Regions from separate parts of the Homo sapiens genome. Here region 1 is linked to region 2. The links are contacts of gene promoters, found by promoter capture Hi-C in human tissues and cell types (Jung and others, 2019). All regions are on one chromosome and are shown on one strand. Each heading gives the region's core, a stretch centred on a gene start or on the middle of the fragment in contact. The rest is flanking DNA. Distances are from core to core; before and after follow the strand shown. Region 1 overlaps ABHD8 (abhydrolase domain containing 8). Region 2 holds the start of MAP1S (microtubule associated protein 1S).

Region 1 (6,949 bases), core at 3,245-5,744, 420 kb before region 2:
CCTTCCACCTTGGCCTTCCAAAGTGTTAAGATTATAGATATGAGCCACTGTGCCCGGCCCTCATCAGATTCTTCAAGCCACCATGACCCAAAAGCGGTAAGAATTACTCATCAGCAAGTGGTAGGAAAGCAATCTGATTAAACAAATGCTTCCGGCTGCCCAGGGGAGGTCACTGTTTCCTACTATCCCTTCCCTTTCAGGATGTTCTGCCACCTGCCTCTGGGCATGACATATCTGTCTTCCTTATACAAGATGGAAGGCCTGAGAAGCCCCCAAAGCTGAGCTCCTCATTCCTACAAAAGCAGGGGTCAACAAACTATGTACGGCCTGTGGGCTAGTCATTTGCTTTTTTAAATACAGTTTACACTTTTGGAGATTTGAAAAATGTTTCCTAAATAAGGTTTTTTTTTTTTTTTTTGAGATGGAGTCCTGCTCTGTTGCCCACGCTGGAGCACAGTGGCGCGATCTCGGCTCACTGCAACCTCCGCCTCCCGGGTTCAAGTGATTCTCCTGTCTCAGCCTCCCGAGTAGCTGGGATTACAGGCATCTGCCATTATGCCCGGCTAATTTTTGTATTTTTAGTAGAGACGGGGTTTCACCGTGTTAGTCAGGCTGGTCTTGAACTCCCGACCTCAGGTGATCTGCCCACCTTGGCCTCCCAAAGTGCTGGGATTAGAGGCGTGAGCCACCGTGCCTGGCCAAAAAATGTTTCCTAAATAAAGTTTTATCAGAAGTTCCAACAGTGACTGTATGGCCTGCAAACCTAAAATATTCGCTATCCGATCCTTTAAGGAAATGTTTGCCAGCCCCTGCTGTAATGAGGAAAGGATACAGACAGGAGTCAGGCAGACCTGATTGTGTCAGGGACTTCCTGTATGCCTTTGGGCAGGTTGCTTCACCTCTCTGAGCTTCAGCCTCCACATTCCTGAAGTTGTAAATGTGCTGACCTAATAGCACTGTTATGGGGTCATGGGAACTATTGTAGGTGGGTGTTTTTTTTGTTTTTTTGTTTTTTTCTCGAGACAGAGTCTTGCTCTGTCACTCAGGCTGGAGTGCAATGGTGCGATCTCGGCTCACTGCAACCCCCACCTCATGGGTTCGAATGATTATCCTGCCTCAGCCTCCCAAGTAGCTGGGATTATAGGCACCTGCAACCATACCCAGCTACTTTTTGTATTTTTATTAGAGACGGGGTTTCACCATTTTGGCCAGGCTGGTCTTGAACTCCTGACCTTGTGATCCGCCTGCCTCGGCCTCCAAAAGTTCTGGGATTACAGGTGTGAACCACTGTGCCCAGCAGGTGGGTGCTCATTTAATTAGAGGAATCATTTCTCATAAGCATCAACTTTTGAGTATGTTATATAAAGAAATATAAACAAATAAGAGCTGTTACCTCTCAGTCTAGATTCCTTTCTTTTAGATACTTATGTAACTTCTTTGTTTTCTTTTCTTTTTTTTTTTTTTTTACTTTTTAGTTTTTTGTAGAGATGAGATCTTGCTTATGTTGCCCAGGTTGGTCTTGAACTCCTCAGCTATAGCAGTCCTCCCACCTCAGCTTCCCAAAGTGTTGGGATTATAGGTGTAAGCCACCACACCTGGCCACTTATTTATTTTTCTTTTTTCTTTTTTTTTTTTTTTGAGATGGAGTCTCACTCTGTCACCCAGGCTGGAGTGCAGTGGCACAATCTCGGCTCACTGCAAGCTCCACCTCCTGGGTGCACGCCATTCTCCTGCCTCAGCCTCCTGAGTAGCTGGGACTACAGGCGCCTGCCACCATGCCTGGCTAATTTTTTTTTGTATTTTTTAGTAGAGACGGGGTTTCACCGTGTTAGCCAGGATGGTCTTGATCTCCTGACCTCCTGATCCGCCCGCCTCGGCCTCCCAAATTGCTGGGATTACAGGTGTGAGCCACCACGCCTGGCCTTTTTTTCTTGTCTAATTGCATAGGCTAGAATCTCTAAAACAGTGGTGCTCAACTTGCCTGGCTGTTCAATCTTGCCTTTCTTCCTGGATAAAGGAGAGAATGAGGCCACTTGGTAGTGGTCAAGCCCTGGGGACCAAGCCTTCCATGGAGGGGTTCTTGGTAAGTTTTAGGTTGTATTACCTGCCCTTTAAGCAGGAGTGAATTACAGTAACCCATGCCTTTGTAAATGCCTAGAATTTACAGGATTCCGATGAGCGCTTCCTGAATGCACAGTGTTCTCCAGGGCAGTTGATTTTTTAACTTAGTCTAAGGCAGTGGTTCTCAGCTGGGGGTAATTCTGCCCACCAGGGCACGCTTGGCAACTACTGAAGACATTTTTGACTGTCATGATCAACACTAGATTGTGTAGTTGCATCCAGTGGGCAGAAGCCAGGGATGCTACTAAACATCCTATAGCCCCTCACAGAAAAAAAATAACCTGGCCAAACACGATAGTGCTGGGATTGAACAACACTGCTTTTTTTTTTTTTTTTTTTTTTTTGGGCAGAGTCTCACTCTGTTGCTCAGGCTGGAGTGCAGTGGTGTGATCTTGGCTCACTGCAACCTCTGCCTCCCAGGTTCAAGTGATTCTCCTGCCTCACACCCCCGAGTAGCTGGGATTACAGGCACACACCATCATGCCTGGTTAATTTTTTGTACTTTTAGTAGAGATGGGGTTTCACCATGTTGGCCAAACTGGTGTTGAACTCCTGACCTCAAGTGATCTGCCTGCTTTGGCTTCCTAAAGTGCTAGGATTACAGGCGTAAGCCACTGCACCTGGCCTGAGCAACACTGCTTTAGAACAATGTGAAACAATATCAGTGATGACGGAAATCCCTGTCTGATTACATATGCTAATGGGAGTTTTCAGCCTGGTATAGCGGCTCATGCCTGTTACCCCACCACATCGGGAGGCCAAGGAGGGAGGATGGCTTGAGCCCAGGAGTTCAAGACCAGCCTGGGCAACATAATGAGACCCCCCCCCCATTCTCTATATAATTTTTTTTTGAACTTGAAAATTGGCCTGGTGCGTTGGCTCACGCCTGTAATCCCAGCGCTTTGGGAGGCCGAGGAGGGCGAATCACGAGGTCAGGAGATCGAGACCATCCTGGCTAACACGGTGAAACCCCGTCTGTACTAAAAAGACAAAAAATTAGCCAGGCATGGTAGCGGGTGCCTGTAGTCCCAGCTACTAGGGAGGCTGAGGCAGGAGAATGGCATGAACCTGGGAGGTGGAGCTTGCAGTGAGCCAGGATCACGCCACTGCACTCCAGCCTGGGGGACAGAGTGAGACTCCATCTCAAAAAAAAAAAAAAAAAAAAAAATTAAGGCTGAGCACAATGACTCACACCTGTAGTCCTAGCACTTTGGGAGGCTGAGGTGCAAGGATCACTTGAGCCCAGTAGTTAAAGAACATCTTGGGCAACATAGTGAGATGCCATCTCTATTTAAAAGAAAAAAAAATTTTAAAAATGTAAAAATTAAATTGAAAAATGGGATTTTTTTCAAGGAGAAAAATTAGGATTTTTGTTTGCTTTGTTTTGTTTTAGGAGATAAGGTTTTGCCATGTTGTCCAAACTCATCTCCAATGATCCATCCACAAAGTGCTGGGATTACAAATGTGCACCACCGCGCGTGGTGGCCCCTTTTTTTTTTTTCATGACGGAGTCTCCTTCTGTCGCCCAGGCTGGAGTGCAGTGGCACAATATGATCTTGGCTCACTGCAAGCTCCGTCTCCCGTGCTCATGCCATTCTCCTGCCTCAGCCTCCCGAGTAGCTGGGACTATAGGTGCCCACCACCACACCCAGCTAATTTTTTGTATTTTTAGTAGAGACAGGGTTTCACCGTGTTAGCCAGGATGGTCTCAATCTTCTGACCTCGTGATCCGCCCGCCTCAGCCTCCCAAAGTGCTGGGATTACAGGCGTGAGCCACCGCGCCCGGATTTTTTTTTCTTTTTTAAAGAGCGACAGGTTCTTGCCATGCTGCCCAGGCTGGAGTGCAGTGGTGTGATCACAGTTCACTGCAGCCTCGACCTCCCAGACTCAAGCAATCTCCTGCCTCAGCCCTTAAGTAGGTGGAACTATATGCGTGCACCTCCTCACCTAGCTAATGTTTGTACTTTTTGTAGAGCTAGGGGGTTCTCCCTATGTTGCCCAGGCTGGTCTCAAACTCCTTGCCTCAAGATATCCTCCCGCCTTGGCCCCCGAAAGCACTGGGATTACAGGTGTCAGTGGCATCTCAGAGTCTCCCTCTGTCGCCCAGGCTGGAGTGCAGTGACACAATCTCGGCTCACTGCAACCTCCACCTCCTCGGTTCAAGTGATTCCTCTGCCTCAGCCTCCCGAGTAGCTGGGACTACAGGCGCGTGCCACCACGTCTGGCTAATTTTTGTATTTTTGGTAGAGACGGGGTTTCACCACCTTGGCCAGACTGTTCCCGAACTCCCAACCTCAGGTGATCCGCCTGCCTCGGCCTCCCAAAGTGCTGGGATTACAGGCGTGAGCCACGGGGCTCAGCCAAAAACTCAGTATTTTGTGACTGTAGTCCCTGCTGACCCCATCCCTCACCCCCACCCCACATGCCAGGGTTCACTTACCCGTAGGAATGGCCAATGAGCACATTTCGCTTCTTGGCATAGCGCTTGAAGATTGCTCGCATGTCCTCAGCCAGCGCATAGAAGGTGTAGGCTGCGGCCACCTGGGGCGCAGAGCTGGCCCCGTGGCCGGCCAGGTCAGGAGCCACCACCTCATAGCCTAGGCGCACAAAGAAGTCCAGCTGCTCCTTCCAGATGGCCAGGGAACCGCCGACACCATGGATGAAAAAGAGCACCACGTCGGCCTGGGCGCCTTTGCAGCTAGTGATGCGCTTCTCACAGTCAATATGGATGGTCCTCTTGGGGCGCCTGGCTCGCCGCCGCCGCCCACCACTGCCACTGCCGCTGCCGCTGCCTGCGCTGCCGGGGGCCAAGCGGCCATCGCTGCCCGCCGGATCTGCCAGCTCCACCTCCAGGGCGGCCGGCGGCTCCCCAGAGCCATTCTGCCCGTGTAGGAGGTCGGCTCGAGGGGCTCGGCCCAGGTTTTCCACCAGCAACCGCCCATTGCGGTACACGGTGATCCGGCGCTGACAGCGGACCAAGCCGGAGAGGTCCCCCTGGGCTGCATCCGAGGATGCGGATGATGGTGGAGGTGGGGCAGCGGCTGGGGCGGGTCCTGCATGCTTCACCCGCAGCACGCGGCCGGGCTTGACCTCTACAAAGGTGTAGCCATCGCTGGACTCGACGCTCTCCAGTGGCCCCACGGCGTTGGGGGGCGTGCCCAGCAGGCAACAGAAGATACCGTCGGTCACCCCGGTCAGCATGGTGTGTCCTGTGAGTGAGGACAGCAGCCAGTTCAGGTGCTGTCTCAATGAGAACCCTGCACCGTGCAGCAGGCACTCCCTGAGCCTTGGGAGAACTGTTTTAGACTCCAGTTTGGGGAGCGCCAGATCAAGTGAGCCACGGCACTGAGATTTTTTTGTTTGTGTGTGTGTGTGTGTGTGTGTGTGTGTGTGTTTTTGAGACAGTCTCGCTTTGTCATCCAGGCTGGAGGGCAGTGGCCGGATTTCGGCTTACTGCAACCTCCCCCTCCTGGGTTCAAGCGATTCTCTTGCCTCAGCCTCCTGAGTAGCTGGGATTATAGGCAGGTGCCACCATGTCTAGCTAATTTTTGTATTTTTTGTAGAGATGGGGTTTCACCATGTTGGCCAGGCTGGTCTTGAACTCCTGACCTCAAATTTTCCTCCTGCTTCGGCCTCCCAAAGTGCTGGGATTATAGGTGTGAGCCACCGTGCACTGACATGTTTTGTCTGAGCAGTGCCTTTGTGGTAGTTACCCTCCTGGGTCACCCTAGTCTATCCTCAGAGAGAAAGACTTGGCTATGGCTTACCCCACAGGGTGTCCACAGGGAAGGTGGTGGCGTCTTGTGTGGGGATGTTCCTGGAGAAGGGGACATTGTGGCAAATGTGGACCAGCCGGAAGACACCCCCTCCCCCCAGCTGGAGTTTATACCATTTATGGCCTCCTAACTCATTCATTCAGGTATACACTAACTCATCCATTCAGGTATACACTAACTCATTCATTCAGGTATACACTAACTCACTAACTCATCCAGGTATGCACTCACTAACTCACATATCCCCAGGGCCTCCTAAGGCATCTAAAATATGCAAATCTTTGGTGAGCCCCCAGTGAGGCTCCTGGCTCTGAATTTGACTCCTGAAAGGTGAGGCCCTAGGAGAGGGGGATGGGGACTGAGCCACAGAAAGCCTTGCTCAGCTCCCCTAGACCGGGGTGAGCCGGGGTCTGTTTCATAGAGGGCCAAGCTGAGGCCCAGACACTCTGAGAGGAAGCTAGACTCTGAACTTCCTCCTTGGCACCCTGGATTCTGGGGATCTGCTATACAAGTCCCCAGAGGTGGCGAAGAGGATGGGAGAGGCAGGGCCCTGGCTGGGGGCCTCCAAGCCTCCATCCCACTCCTTGGGCCACCCCCGCCCCCGTGTCCATGGCAACCACAGGCGGTTACATAACCTAAGGGGGGGATACCCGAGCAGTGCACCCCCATTGTCGAGGTGTCTAGGGCCTGGAGATGGGACCAGCTGCCTGCCTGCCCCCTACCCCAGGTTGGGCGCCGCTAAGGTAACGCACGCCCGAGACTGAGCCGCAGTGGCCCCAGACATACTGGAGGGGAAGCAGGCCATGCCCCCCACCTCGAGTGGGGCCCTAATCCCGGATTGTGGAGGGCAACGCACAGGCGCCACCCCAGCCCCGCTTCCCCGCCCCCGGCCCCCGCCTTCCAGGTGTTCGTCATCCCTGCAGCGGGGTCGAGCCCACTGGGGCTCCGTGGCTTCCTACGAGCCCAAACGCGGGGTTGGTGGACACCACTCCTCCGAAGTGGAGGCCCCGGGGCTTCGATCTCTCCTTTTGGGGCCCGTTCCCCGCTCACCT
Region 2 (6,625 bases), core at 377-2,876:
AGGCGCGGCGGCTCACGCCTGTAATCCCAGCACTTTGGGAGGCCAAGGCAGGAGGATCACTTGAGGTCAGGAGTTCGAGACCAGCCTGGCCAACATGGTGAAACCCCATCTCTGCCGGGCACGGTGGCTCACGCCTGTAATCCCAGCACTTTGGGAGGCCGAGGCAGGCAGATCACGAGGTCAGGAGATCGAGACCACGGTGAAACCCCGTCTCTACTGAAAATACAAAAAATTAGCTGGGCACAGTGGCGGGCGCCTGTAGTCCCAGCTACTCGGGAGGCTGAGGCAGGAGAATGGCATGAACCTGGGAGGTGGAGCTTGCAGTGAGCCGAGATCGCGCCACTACCCTTCAGCCTGGGCGACAGAGCGAGACTCTGTCTCTAAAAGAAAAGAAAAGAAAAGAAAAGAAAAGAAAAGAAAAGAAAAGAAAAGAAAAGAAACCTCATCTCTACTAAAATACAAAAATTAGCAGGGCATGGTGGCGGACACCTATAATCCCGCTACTTGGGAGGCTGAGGCAAGGGAATCGCTTGAACCCGGGAGGCAGAGGTTGCAGTGAGCTGAGATTGTGCCATTGCACTCCAGCCTGGGCGGCAGAATGAGACTCCATCTCAAGAAAAGGAAAGGAGAGGAGAGGAGAGGGGAGAGGAGGGGAGGGGAGGGGAGGGAGAGGAAGGGAGGGGAGGGGAGGAGAGGAGAGGAGAGGGGAGAGAAGGGGAGGGGAGGGGAGAAGAGGAGAGGAGGGGAGGGGAGGAGAGGAGAAGAGAGGGGAGGAAAGGAAAGAAAAGCCTAAAGAGGATTATCTGGGGAGAGAGAGGTACCCATGTGCGCAACGCAGGCAGTCCCTTGCACAGGCTGGATCTAGAGTAAGACCCACTTGGGTTCAAACCTGCTCTACCACTTACAGGCCTGGTGACTTCATCCCTCCAAATCTCAGTTTCCTCTTCTTTCCTCTGAAAGTGACCACAGTAACTGTGCCTACTCATCTGTGCCTACATACAAGCACAAAACTCATCGCTTTGTGCTTGTATGTAATGAGCTAATGCAATAAAATACCTGGCGCACAGGAGGTGCAGAATAAGTGTTGCCCTGTTCCAGGCAGGCCCAGAGTGCTCCGGTTGTGTCCCAAACACACATGTACTTTCTTACCTCTAAAACTTTGCACCTGCTGTAAACTTCTGCCTCACCAGCTCTTGCCCCACCACCCACAAGGCAAACTCCTACACATCCCTTAAAGCCCTACCTACAAGATAGATTTCTTTTCTCTGTTCAAGCCCTGACCTAGAGAGCTGGGAGCATCCATAGGCACCGGGTTCTGATGCGGCCTACTGTCATGTGATGTGAGTTCCTGGAGGGCAGGAGTTCTGACCTACATGCAGCAGGCACGCAATCAAAGCTTGTTCAATGAAAAAAAAAATGAATGAATGGTCACTTGGGAGAGGCGGCTCCCAAGCGGACACCCAGGAGTCGGCCAACCCCTTTAACGCCCGCATCCCCTGCTCTCCACGACCTCAAAGGGCCTGTAAGTGGTCGACAAAAAGGGGCGGGGATGCGGTGGTTCCGGGCGGGGTCTTCAGCCCTTCCGGTGCGGCCCCTTTAAGAGGCGGGGCCTGCGGGGCGGGCGCCGAGAACGCCGGGGCGGCCCGAAGATGGCGGCGGTGGCTGGATCTGGGGCTGCCGCGGCTCCGAGCTCACTGCTCCTCGTGGTGGGCAGCGAGTTCGGGAGCCCGGGGCTCCTCACCTACGTCCTGGAGGAGCTCGAAAGAGGTCGGGCTGGCCTGGGGGCCCGCGGGAGCCCGGGAGGCGGGCCCGTTCGCGCGTCTGGGCCCGGGGCCGGCGGGGTGGGGCGGCGGCGGCGGCGGCGGCGGGACCCGGGCTCCGGGGCGGGGGTCGCGGGCCTGGGGCTGGGTCCCCTTCACCGTTAGGCGCACGACGCGGGCAAAGGCGGGGTGCCCGTGGGTGCCCGCGGAGAAAGTGGCATCCGGGCCTGGGCTGGGCAGGGCTGCCCCGCCCCAACTCCGGGTGAAGATAGGGGAGGGGACACGGGCCTGGGCTTGGGGACCCTTGCAGTTGGACCACGGCTCCGCTTCCCGCCTGACTGGCCTGCCCGGGGGTAGGGCCTGGGGTCGCTTTGGATCTCCAGGTCTTAGCAGCTTAGATAGAGATCTCCCGGAGGGAGAAGCAGATATGGGGGAGGCTGGGCCTGGAGCCCCGGGGCCCGCTTTCTGTTGCCTCACAAGGAGCTGCTAATTGGGGTGTGGGCGGGTGCGGCCTGCCCTGGGGATTTGGCACCTAGGGAGGTGAGTCATAGGCGCACCTGCCAGGTTCACCTGCAGCCACTTGGCTCAGTGGGACTGGCGGGCGTGATGCGCCCGTGGGTGGAGATGGGTGTTCATCCCCCATCCCTCGGAGCATCTGGACCTGGCGTTTCATTGCATGTAAAATGGGACAGGAACACGCACCTCGGTTCATGTGCTTGAGGAGTGTTTAGTGAGCACCTGCTATGCGCCAGGCCTTTGGGCAGTGGACACAGGGATATGGCCGGGATGATAGACAGGTTCAGCCCTGCCAACACAGGTCTGGTTTGGGGATGGACCCAAAGCGAGTGAGGAGATGGAACAAGCTTCCAGCTCACATGGTGTCAGGAAGGATGAGAAGGCTGCAAGGGACTGAGAGGACAGTCAGTCTTAGCACCCGAAGGTGCTGAGGGGGAAGGGCCCCCTGGCCAGTAGGAACAGGTGGGGGCGGCAGGGGGATGGACTTCCAGGCAGGGGAAACAGCTGTTGCAAGGGCGGTGAGTGGAAACGGGTCTGGCAGGGCATAGGAGCAGCGAGGAGGTGGAGATGGAGGAGGTGGAGGCTTTGTTGCTGATGAATCTTGTGTGTAAAATGATGAGGTGTGCTCTGGGTCCCCTGGCTCAGCTGCAGCGAGACCTGAAGGTGTTGGGTACTTCTGAGTCTCCAAGCTGTGAGTGAAGGGAGGAGGCTGGGGCGCTCCCCACCCACGGGGTGCTAATTATTGAAATATTCTGGGAGCTGGGGGGCCCGGCTGAACTCCCGCCTTGATCCCTCCTTCCCACCAGGCATCCGGTCTTGGGATGTCGATCCTGGCGTCTGCAACCTTGATGAACAGCTCAAGGTCTTTGTGTCCCGACACTCTGCCACCTTCTCCAGCATTGTGAAAGGTGAGGCTGGGGTCCCCCTGACTGCTCCCTACCTCTTGTTATTTGGGGAAGTGCCAGCCGTGTGCCAGGCATGGGGGGTGGGATGCAGCTATAAATAACAACAGTAATAATACAGTTGAGACCTTTCAAATGCAAGCCGTGACCCAGTGATAACCCCCTCAGTCCTCAGCAACCCACAGTGCAGGAACTGGTGTTTTTGTCCCTGATTGACAGATGAGGAAATTGGCATTGAAGGGGGAAGAGGCAGGGAGATCTCTGAGGAGGGGGTTTTTTGATGAGAAACTGCTATGACTGGTGTGTCCAGTGGAAGGGAAGGGCCCCAGTCAAGACCCAGCAGTGGACAGAACATCTAGAATGAACCGGGCGCGGTGGCTTACGCCTCTGATCTCAGCACTTTGGGAGGCCGCAGCGGGCGGATCACTTGAGGTCAGGAGTTGGAGACTAGCCTGGCCAACGTGGAGGAACCCTGTCTCTACTAAGAATACAAAAATAACGGCATGGTGGCAGGCGCCTCTAATCCCAGCTACTCGGGAGGCTGAGGTGGGAGGATCACATGAACCCAGGAGGCAGAGGTTACAGTGGGGCTGAGACTGCGCCACTGCACTCCTGCCTGAGTGACAGAGTGGGAGGGACTCTGTCTCAGAACAAACAAACAAACAAAAAACATCTGGAAGGTGGAGGGGCACTGAGCAGGCCCTGGAAGATGGAGTGTGGGCCCCTTGCAGGAAGGGACTGATACTGGTTCACAGCCACAGGCCTGGGTATACAGTAGGCAGGGAACTGAAAAGGAGTGAGATCAAGAAGGGCCCAACTCAGCACGAGGCTCCCTTCTAGGGTGACCCAGGGTGAGCAGAGCAGCAGGCGGGCAGGCAGGGCTTGGGTGTTGCCTGCAGCCGCCCCCGGCTCCTGATGGTCTCTTGAGTCACCTCCCGGCTGCTGCTGGAGAGGAAGGAAGTGTCTGTAGTCTCATTGTCCCAGTTGGTCCTTGTGGCTTCCTGACACTTCATGGGGCAGAAAGTGGAGCTGGAAATCCTGTCTGCTGTGTGTGAACTTCGTGGCCACTTCCCTTCTTTATGCCTTGATTTCCCCACCTGAATGGGGCAATATCCCTGTGTGGCAAAAAGCGTGCTAAGGCTGGGTGGGGTGGCTCTCGCCTGTAATCCCAACACTTTGGGAGGTCAAAGTGGGAGGATTTTTTGAGGTCAGGAGTTCAAAACCAGCTGGGGCAACATGGTGAAACCCTGTCCCTACTGAAAATGCAAAAATGAGCTGGACCTGGTGGTGCACACCTGTAGTCCCAGCTACTCAGGAGCCCGAGGAGGGAGGATCGCTTTTACCCAGGAGGCAGAGGCTGCAGTGAGCTAAGATTGTGCCACTGCACTTCAGCCTGGGCAACAGAGCGAGACCCTGTCTCAAAAAAATAAACTTAGGCCTGACATGGTGGCTCACACCTATAATCCCAGCACTTTGGAAGGCTGAGGTGGGTGGATCACCTGAGGTCAGGAGTTCGAGACCAGCCTGACCAGTATGGTGACACCCCATCTCTACTAAAAATACAAAAATTAGCTGGTTGTGGTGGCAAGCGCCTATAACCCCAGCTACTTGGGAGACTGAGGTTGGAGAATTGCTTGAACTCAGGAGGCAGAGGTTGCAGTGAGCTGAGATCGTGCCACTACACTTCAGCCTGGGCAATAGAGGGAGATTCCATCTCAAAAAAGAGAGAGAGAGAGAGGGAGGGAGGGAGGGAGGGGGAGAGGGAGGGAGAGAGAGAGAGAAAGGAAAGAGAAAGCTAAATGTGATAAGGGCGAGAGAGAGAGAAAGGGAAAAGAAGGAAAGAAAGGAAAGAAAGTTAAATGTGATAAGGGCTGGCAACACTGGAGGGTCTCTGCCTCTCAAGACTCAGCCTTGTTCACAGTTCAGTCCTGCCTCAGGGGCCTTGGCTGGTGCTGTACCCTGGTCCGGGTTGGCCCTCACCGGCCCCCACCCCGGCTCTGGCTCCTTGCCACCCCCCTCTCACAGTACTGATGTTTAAAACACATACGGGCCCTGGGGGACAGAGCAGGGTCAGGATCCCAGAAACAGCCCTACTTCAGCCCCGGCCCTTATGCTGCCCCACCCCTAGCTGAGTCCTGCCTCAGGACCTTTGCTCCGGATGTACCCTCGTCCACGTTCGCCCTCATTGGCCCTCCTCGAGCTCTGGCTCTCTGTCTGAAAAATAAATGTGGCCGGATGGGTGCAGTGGGTCAAGTCTGTAATCCCAGCACTTTGGGAGGCCGAGGCAGGCGGATCACCTGAGGTCAGGAGTTTGAGACCAGCCTGACCCACATGTTAAAACCCCGTCTCTACTAAAAATTGAAAAAATTAATGGGGCGTGGTGGCGTGTGCCTGTAATCCCAGCTACTCGGGAGGCTGAGGCAGGAGAATTGCTTGAACCCAGGAGGCGGAGGTTGCAGTGAGCCCAGGTTGCACTGTTGCACGCCAGCCTGGGCAACAAGAGCAAAACTCCGTCTCAAAAAAAAAGAAAAGAAAAAGGCCGGGCGCGGTGGCTCACGCCTGTAATCCCAGCACTTTGGGAGGCCGAGGCAGGCGGATCACGAGGTCAGGATATGGAGACTATCCTGGCTTACACGGTGAAACCCTGTCTCTACTAAAAATACAAAAACTTAGCCGGGTGTGGTGGCGGGCACCTGTAGTCCTGGCTACTCGGGAGGCTGAGGCAGGAGAATGGCGTGAACCCGGGAGGAGGAGCGGAGCTTGCAGTGAGCAGAGATTGCACCACTGCCCTCCAGCCTGGGCGACAGAGCGAGACTCCGTCTCACAAAAAAAAGAAGAAAATGGTGGCATCACTCCCAGGGGTGACAGCTGCAAACCAGGCCCTGCGCACGATGGGGCCCTCTGGTTACTGCCTCTCTTAGGCCAGCTGGGGTGGTTTGAGTTTCTCTTTCTTGCCTGGTCCTGACCTGCAGCTCTGCCGTGCGCCTGTTAATCTCCATATGATCCCTGGGTGGGTTCCCAGAGGGGTTCATGTTCCCTGAGGGTCACACGGGGAGGCAGGATTTGACTCCGGGACGGCCTGATTCCCCCACAGGCCAGCGGAGCCTGCACCACCGTGGAGACAACCTGGAGACCCTGGTCCTCCTGAACCCATCAGACAAGTCCCTGTATGATGAGGTAGGGAATGGCTGACGTCCTGGAGGGGGCGGGCTGCTGGGACCCGTGCCTTCTCTGTCTTCCTGTCTCGTGTCCTTGTCTTCATGCTGCCCCAGATCCTCTCAAGACACCCGGCACCACACTTCTTCGCCCACGAAGCCTTCCCTGTGGCTTCAGCCTCCGCTTCTTCCCTCCTCTGGGGTGGGAGCAGAAAAGCCTGGACTTTGGGAGGGAGGGGAGGGTAAGCACTCCCAGCTCAGGGCCCAGGACAGCGTGGGTCTGGAGGTGGGA

What was found. Contacts are between HindIII fragments. The study calls those that stand out against the background at their distance.
Region 1: a fragment that was not itself captured here is called in contact with the fragment with the promoter of MAP1S in region 2 in 1 of the 25 tissues and cell types used here (dorsolateral prefrontal cortex).

The regions. Positions count from the first base shown.
Region 1 is chr19:17,296,295-17,303,243 of GRCh38, forward strand. ABHD8 (abhydrolase domain containing 8) reads right to left here. Exons shown (of 5, transcript NM_024527.5): 1 at 6,948-6,949; 2 at 4,562-5,330. The coding sequence starts at 5,322. It also overlaps a transcript of MRPL34 not described here. Among named protein-coding and RNA genes, the nearest start is that of ABHD8, 3.7 kb to the right of the region's middle. RefSeq lists enhancers at 4,667-5,167, 5,168-5,668 and silencers at 6,026-6,320, 6,704-6,949. The HindIII fragment of the contact is 7,858 bases long and covers 566-6,949 here.
Region 2 is chr19:17,717,854-17,724,478 of GRCh38, forward strand. MAP1S (microtubule associated protein 1S) reads left to right here and starts at 1,627. Exons shown (of 7, transcript NM_018174.6): 1 at 1,627-1,767; 2 at 3,083-3,184; 3 at 6,273-6,355. The coding sequence starts at 1,650. RefSeq lists enhancers at 1-158, 2,209-2,278, 2,669-2,818 and a silencer at 1,809-1,858. The HindIII fragment of the contact is 7,935 bases long and covers 1-2,009 here.